Regions from separate parts of the Homo sapiens genome. Here region 2 is linked to region 1. The links are contacts of gene promoters, found by promoter capture Hi-C in human tissues and cell types (Jung and others, 2019). All regions are on one chromosome and are shown on one strand. The core of a region is centred on a gene start or on the middle of the fragment in contact, and the rest is flanking DNA. Distances in the headings are between cores, read along the strand shown.

Region 1 (2,866 bases), core at 101-2,600:
CTTCCTGGCTGCCCAGATAGAGCCAATGTATCAAGACAGGGGAACTGCAATAGAGAAAGAGTTTAATCCACACAGAGCTGGCTGAATGGGAGACCAAAGTTTCATTACTCAAATCAGTCTCCCTGGAAATTCAGAGCCTAGAGTTTTTAAAGGGTAATTTGGTAGATAAGCTGCCAAGGAGTAGGGAGTGCTGATTGGTGGGGTGGGAGATGAAATCACAGGGTGTTGAAGGATGCAAGAACTGGTTGAGTCAGATTACAGCTCTAGGTGGCCTTGGCTGGTGCATCAGACTGCAGGGTCAGAAAAACACCTAAGAGTACCAATCTTAGGTTTTACAATAGTGATATTATACCTAGGATCAACTGGGGAGGTTTAGAATCTTGTGGCCTCTGGGTGCATGACTCCTAAACCGTAATTTCTTTCTTTCTTTCTTTTTTTGAGATGGAGTCTCAGTCTCTTGCTCAGGCTGGAGTGCAGAGGCATAATCTCAGCTCACTGCAACCTCCATCTCTCGGGTTCAAGCAATTTTTGGGCTTCAGCCTCCCTAGTAGTTGGGATTACAGGTGCGTGCCACCATACCCGGCTAATTTTTGTATTTTTAAATAGAGACATGGTTTCACCATGTTGGCCAGGCTGGTCTCAAACTCCTGACCTCAAGTGATCCACCTGCGTCAGCCTTCCAAAGTGCTGGGATTACAGGCGTTAGCCACTGAGCTGGGCCCTAAACTATAATGTCTAATCTTGTAGCTAACGTGTTACTCTTACAAAGGAAGCCTGGTTCTCAGGCAACAAGGGGGTTTGTTTTGGGAAAGGGCTGTTAACTATCTTTGTTTCAATATTAAACTATAAACTAAGTTGCTCCCAAAGTTAGTTCTGCCTATGCCTAGGAATGAACAAGGACAACCTGGAGGTTAGAAGCAAGATGGAGTGGGTTAGGTCAGCTCTCTTTCACTGTCATAATTTTCTGTTGTAATTTTTGCAAAGGCAGTTTCAAGCGCAGGGACAGTGACCGTGTGGTTCAAGGTTTTATGTAATGCACCTCCCAAACTCAATAAATATTAGTCGCATAAAAGAAAAAATGCAGCCCTGGAGGAAGATGCCCTGCCCTGTTGCTGGCATGAGTGAAGAGGAGGCGCTCACAGGGACGGTTCTTTCCCTATTCTCCAGCCTCGTGTACATTGGGCAAACAGGCCCCGACCATCCCACGTGCTCAGCCCCAGCTCTAGGCCAAATCGCCTCCGCTCCCACTGACGTCATCACGGCGCATCACGTGCCTCCCGAGACCCCACCCCCCACCGTGACGTCCCGGGCCTCGGCCCTGGTCCAAAGTCTACCCGCCTCCTTGTGACAGAAGTGCGACTGCCAGCTGCCGAGGCGTTCGGTCCTGCTGTTGCGGCCGCTGCCCCAGGGCTGCGGGGACGGTGAGTCGACTGGACGCATTCGGAGACGGCTTCGCGCGGGAGCCCTCCTCCCCGGGGGAAGGGTCTGGGCGCCAGCTCTCCTCAGGTCGGGGCGTGACCTCGGACCGTGGCGCCCCCTCCCCGCCCCCGCCCGCGGCGCCTGGGCGGTGCATGCCGGGCACCGTAGTCCCCAGCCTCTCAGAGCGGGTTGTGGTGGGGGGGGTGACCGGGCGGACTACAAGTCCTAGAAGCCTCTGGGCGGTGGGGTGGGCGGTGGGTTGGGGGGTTTCGTTGTGCGCGCAAAGCCGCGCGGGGCTGAGGGTCTTGTTCTGCCGGCGCCTGTCCGGACCCGGGCCCCTCTCCGCTTTCGGCCGGCCTCGGGCACCGGGCTTCTGGAGGTAAAGCGGGGCCGGCGGTTGGGGCGCGGCATGGCGGGGCCCGTCCTCCCCTCAGGGCGCTGCCGAGACCTAGCGCGGCCCTGGGGATGTCGAAGCCGCTGCGGTGGCGGGGCCCGGGCGGGCGCCCCGCTGTGTGCCGCGGGGTTGTGCGCCCGGAATGGCAGCCTGCTCGCCCGCACGTTTTTCCGTCAGGGAAGGTTGTGGAAATTGCCATCTCCGTCTTGCAGGGCGAGACGGGGAGGGGAGGGGTGGGAGTTGTTTTCTCAAGGAAAGGGGGTCGAGGAGGAGCCCCGTGGCCGAGCCAGCCCCTGCCGAGCCCCGCGGGTGACCTTGGCCGTCCCGGAGCCCAGCAGTGTCCTGCACCCGCGCCCGGCTCGCCGACGTGTGGAGTCGGGATGTGGCGCTCGGCCGCGCATCCCCGGCGGAGATGGCGACGGCCTGGCCTAGCTTGGGGCTAGGAGTCGCGCCTTCGAGGACCTTGGCTTAGCGAGTTCCTTGGGGGGCTTCTCAACAGGTGTTAGATGAGGTGGGGCGAGTGGCTGTGAGTTCCTCCAAAGGTGGGCTCAAGATCCTCTGCGTCAGAACCACCTGGGGCTCTTGGGAAACGGGCAGATTCCTGGGGCCCACCCCAGGTGTTGGGATGCTGTAGTTCCGTCGCGCTGCCCAGGAATCTGCATTTAGTAGGCTCCCCAGATCATTCCCGGGCGCAGCTGGGGCTGAGAACCTGTCCCAGTGAGGGGGTTGGCGGGCCCGGGGGCAGGGACGTTCCATAGTGTTTCTGCCAGTTTCTTCTGTATTCTGGGGCCTGATGCTGGGCGGGGCGGTGCCCGGGCAAGTTACTGCTCTCCTGGGTTCTTTGCTGCTTCCCTTGGGGCCGATCTAGGTAGAACTGGGTGGAGGGAGGCGTGCCAGCTCTGCCTTGCCCTCTGCCCTTAATCGGAAAGGTTATGCCCAGTCACTTGCCAGTCTCAGAAGACTCCCCCTCTACACATTCAGTTACGAAAAACGTGAAACATACAAAAGTTGAAGGAATTTTACAGTGAACACCCACAGACCACCACCTAGAAT
Region 2 (2,866 bases), core at 199-2,698, 220 kb before region 1:
CTACAGGCATGCACCACCACACCCGGCTAGTTGTTTTTTTTTTGTTTTTTTTTTAATGGGACACAGTCTCGCTGTGCTGCCTAGGCTGGTCTTGAACTCCTGGGCTCAAGTGATCCTCTTGCCTAAGTCTCCCAAAGCACTGGGATTACAGGCATAAGCCACCATGCCTGGCCTGTTTTATTTTTATTTATTTATTTATAATTTTTATATGTGTGTGTGTGTGTGTGTGTGTGTGTGTGTGTGTGTGTGTGTGTGTGTATGTATGTGTATTTGTTTTGTTTTGTTTTTGTTTTTTTGAGACAGAGTTTTGCTCTTGTTGCCCAGGCTGGAGTGCAATGGTGCGATCTCGGCTCACTGCAACCTCCGGCTCCCGGGTTCAAGCGATTTTCCTGCGTCAGCCTCCTGAGTAGCTGGGATTACAGGCACCCACCACCATGCCTGGCTAATTTTTTTTGTATTTTTAGTACAGATGGGGTTTCACCATGTTGGCCAGGCTGGTCTGGAGCTCCTGACCTCAGATGATCCACCTGCCTTGGCCTCCCAATGTGCTGGGATTACGGGTGTGAGCCACCGCGCCCGGCCGAACATTTCCTTTAGACCCTCCCCGAAAACCCCCTAGACTCATTACCAGAGTCTCTACCTGTTTTTCCCTCAGCCTCTGGCAACCACAAAGCTCCTTCTTGTCTCTGTGAATTTGCCTGTTCTGGAAAGAGTTTGCTTGTTTTTTTAATCATGCTTCCGGGTCAATCTGGTGCTACATCTGGGAGCCACTGGCCCAGAGGCATCCTGAAGTCCCCCGTCTGCCGCAATGGGGTCCTGGGGCTGGCTAGCCACGGAGCCAGGGGATGCTCTTGTCTCCCTGTGGAGCATGGGCCTCGGTGGCTGAGTGTGCAGTGGGTCCACCACTCCTCGTGGCGAATCTGTCCCTTCTCCGGTGGTGTCCCAGCTCTGCAGCAGTGGCACATGGGAGCAGTGGGCGGAGACACCAGGACTCACCACTGCAACGAGAGTGGAGAAGACCAGCTGCACCACCAGGCTTGGCGCCAGCCTCGAGGGGCAGTGGCGGTGCAGCTCCCTGGGCCAGTGGCCTTAGTTGGGGAGGAGGCAGCTTGCTTGGGGCCAGGACTGAGTGGGGTGCGTTCTGGCAGGTGCCCGTGAACTTGGAGGACGTGGCTGTATACCTTTCTGGGGAGGAGCCAAGATGCATGGACCCAGCTCAGCGGGACGCGCCGCTGGAGAATGAAGGTAACTTGCAAGTGATTGTGTCCTCTAGGGGGCTTGCCAAAAATAGGAACTGTCAGGCACCAGCTCCGGGGCTTGGTTCTGTTGGTCCAGTTGGCCTGGGGCGATCCTCCGTGGACAGGGCTACCCGTATCCCTGCAGAGTCCCACCTGCAGGGCCTGCACAGCCACTCGGCCGTGACTCAGGCAGATGCCCAGCACTGCCTTGCCATCCTGTTCTTCTGCCTCTGCCCCCTACATGCTGGTCCTACTTCACTTCAGCTTCCCTGTGCCCTCCTCTCAAGGGCAGAGCTGCTCCCACAGGACCTGGTTCTCCAGCCTCTCCCCATCACACTGAGCACTGCCCTGCCTGTTACCCAGCACCGTCCCCTAAGCTCTTTCTCTGTCCGTTTGTCTCTTCCTGCCTTTCCTGATGCTGCTGAAGCCTTTTCTGGTTTTTTGTTTGCTTGTTTGTTTTGAGATGGATTTTTGCTCTGTTGCCCAGGCTGGAGTGCAGTGGCACAACCTTGGCTCACTGCAACCTCCACCTCCTGGGTTCAAGCGATGCTCCCACCTCAGCCTCCCAAGTAGCTGGGATTACAGGTACTCGCCATCATGCCTGGCTAATTTTTGTTTTATTAGTAGAGATGGGTTTCATCACCATGTTGGCCAGGCTGGTCTCGAAGTCCTGACTTCAGGTGATCCGCTGGCCTAGGCCTCCCAAAGTGCTGGGATGACAGGTGTGAGCCACCGTGCGTGGCCATGCTGAAGCCTTTTCTAATGACAGTGAGATATCGCTTTGTATTAGGGTTCTTCTCCAGAGAAACAGAACCAACAGAAGATACACACACACACAGATTTATTTTAAGGAATGGGTACTTAGACAGCTCCCTTGGTTGCTTACAGAAGTTGACAAGTCTGAAATCTGCAGGCCAGGCCAGCAGACTGGAAGCTTAGGATTTCTGTGCCACGGTCTTGAGGCAGACTTCCTTCTTTGGGAAACCTCCAGAATTTTTTTCCTTTTTAAGGCTGAAGAATATTCCATTGTAAATAATGCTGCAGTGAACGTGGGTGTACAAGTGTATCTCTGATCAACTCTGCTTTCCGTTCCTGGGTGGATGTATCCAGCAGTGGGATGGCTGGAGCATATGTGGTCATTCTGTGTTGAATTTTTTGAGGAGCCGCCATGCTGTTTTCCACAGCATCTGCACCATCTCATGCACCCAGCAAGAGTGCACAAGGGTTCCAGTTTCTCCACATCCATACCAATGGTTGTTATTTTCAGGGTTTTTTTTTTTTTTTGAGATGAAGTCTTGCTCTGTTGCCCAGGCTGGAGTGGAGTGGCACGATCTCAGCTCAGCTCACTGCAACCTCCGCCTTCCAGGTTCAAGCGATTCTCCTGCCTCAGCCTCCCAAAGTAGCTGGGATTACAGGTGTGTGCCACCATACCCGGCTAATTTTTCTATTTTTAGTAGAGCTGGGTTTTGCCATGTTGGCCAAGCTGGTCTCGAATTCCTGATCTCAAGTGATCTGCCTGCCTCAGCCTCCCTAAGTGCTGGGATTACAGGCGTGAGCTACCGCACCTGGCCTGATTTGGAAATATTTTCTCCTATTTTGTGTGTTGCATTTTCATTTTGTTGGTAGCG

What was found. The method cuts DNA at HindIII sites, captures the fragments that hold promoters and counts their contacts. A contact is called where the count stands out against the background at its distance.
Region 2: a contact is called between a fragment that was not itself captured here and the fragment with the promoter of CDIP1 in region 1, in 1 of the 25 tissues and cell types used here (dorsolateral prefrontal cortex).

What each region holds. Positions count from the first base shown.
Region 1 is chr16:4,537,257-4,540,122 of GRCh38, reverse strand. It overlaps CDIP1 (cell death inducing p53 target 1), which reads left to right and starts at 1,350. Exons shown (of 6, transcript NM_013399.3): 1 at 1,350-1,421. It also overlaps a transcript of C16orf96 not described here. RefSeq lists silencers at 1,434-1,723, 1,734-1,953. The HindIII fragment of the contact is 9,452 bases long and covers 1-2,866 here.
Region 2 is chr16:4,758,871-4,761,736 of GRCh38, reverse strand. ZNF500 (zinc finger protein 500) reads left to right here. Exons shown (of 6, transcript NM_021646.4): 5 at 1,149-1,245. Among named protein-coding and RNA genes, the nearest start is that of ZNF500, 6.9 kb to the left of the region's middle. The HindIII fragment of the contact is 5,964 bases long and covers 1-2,866 here.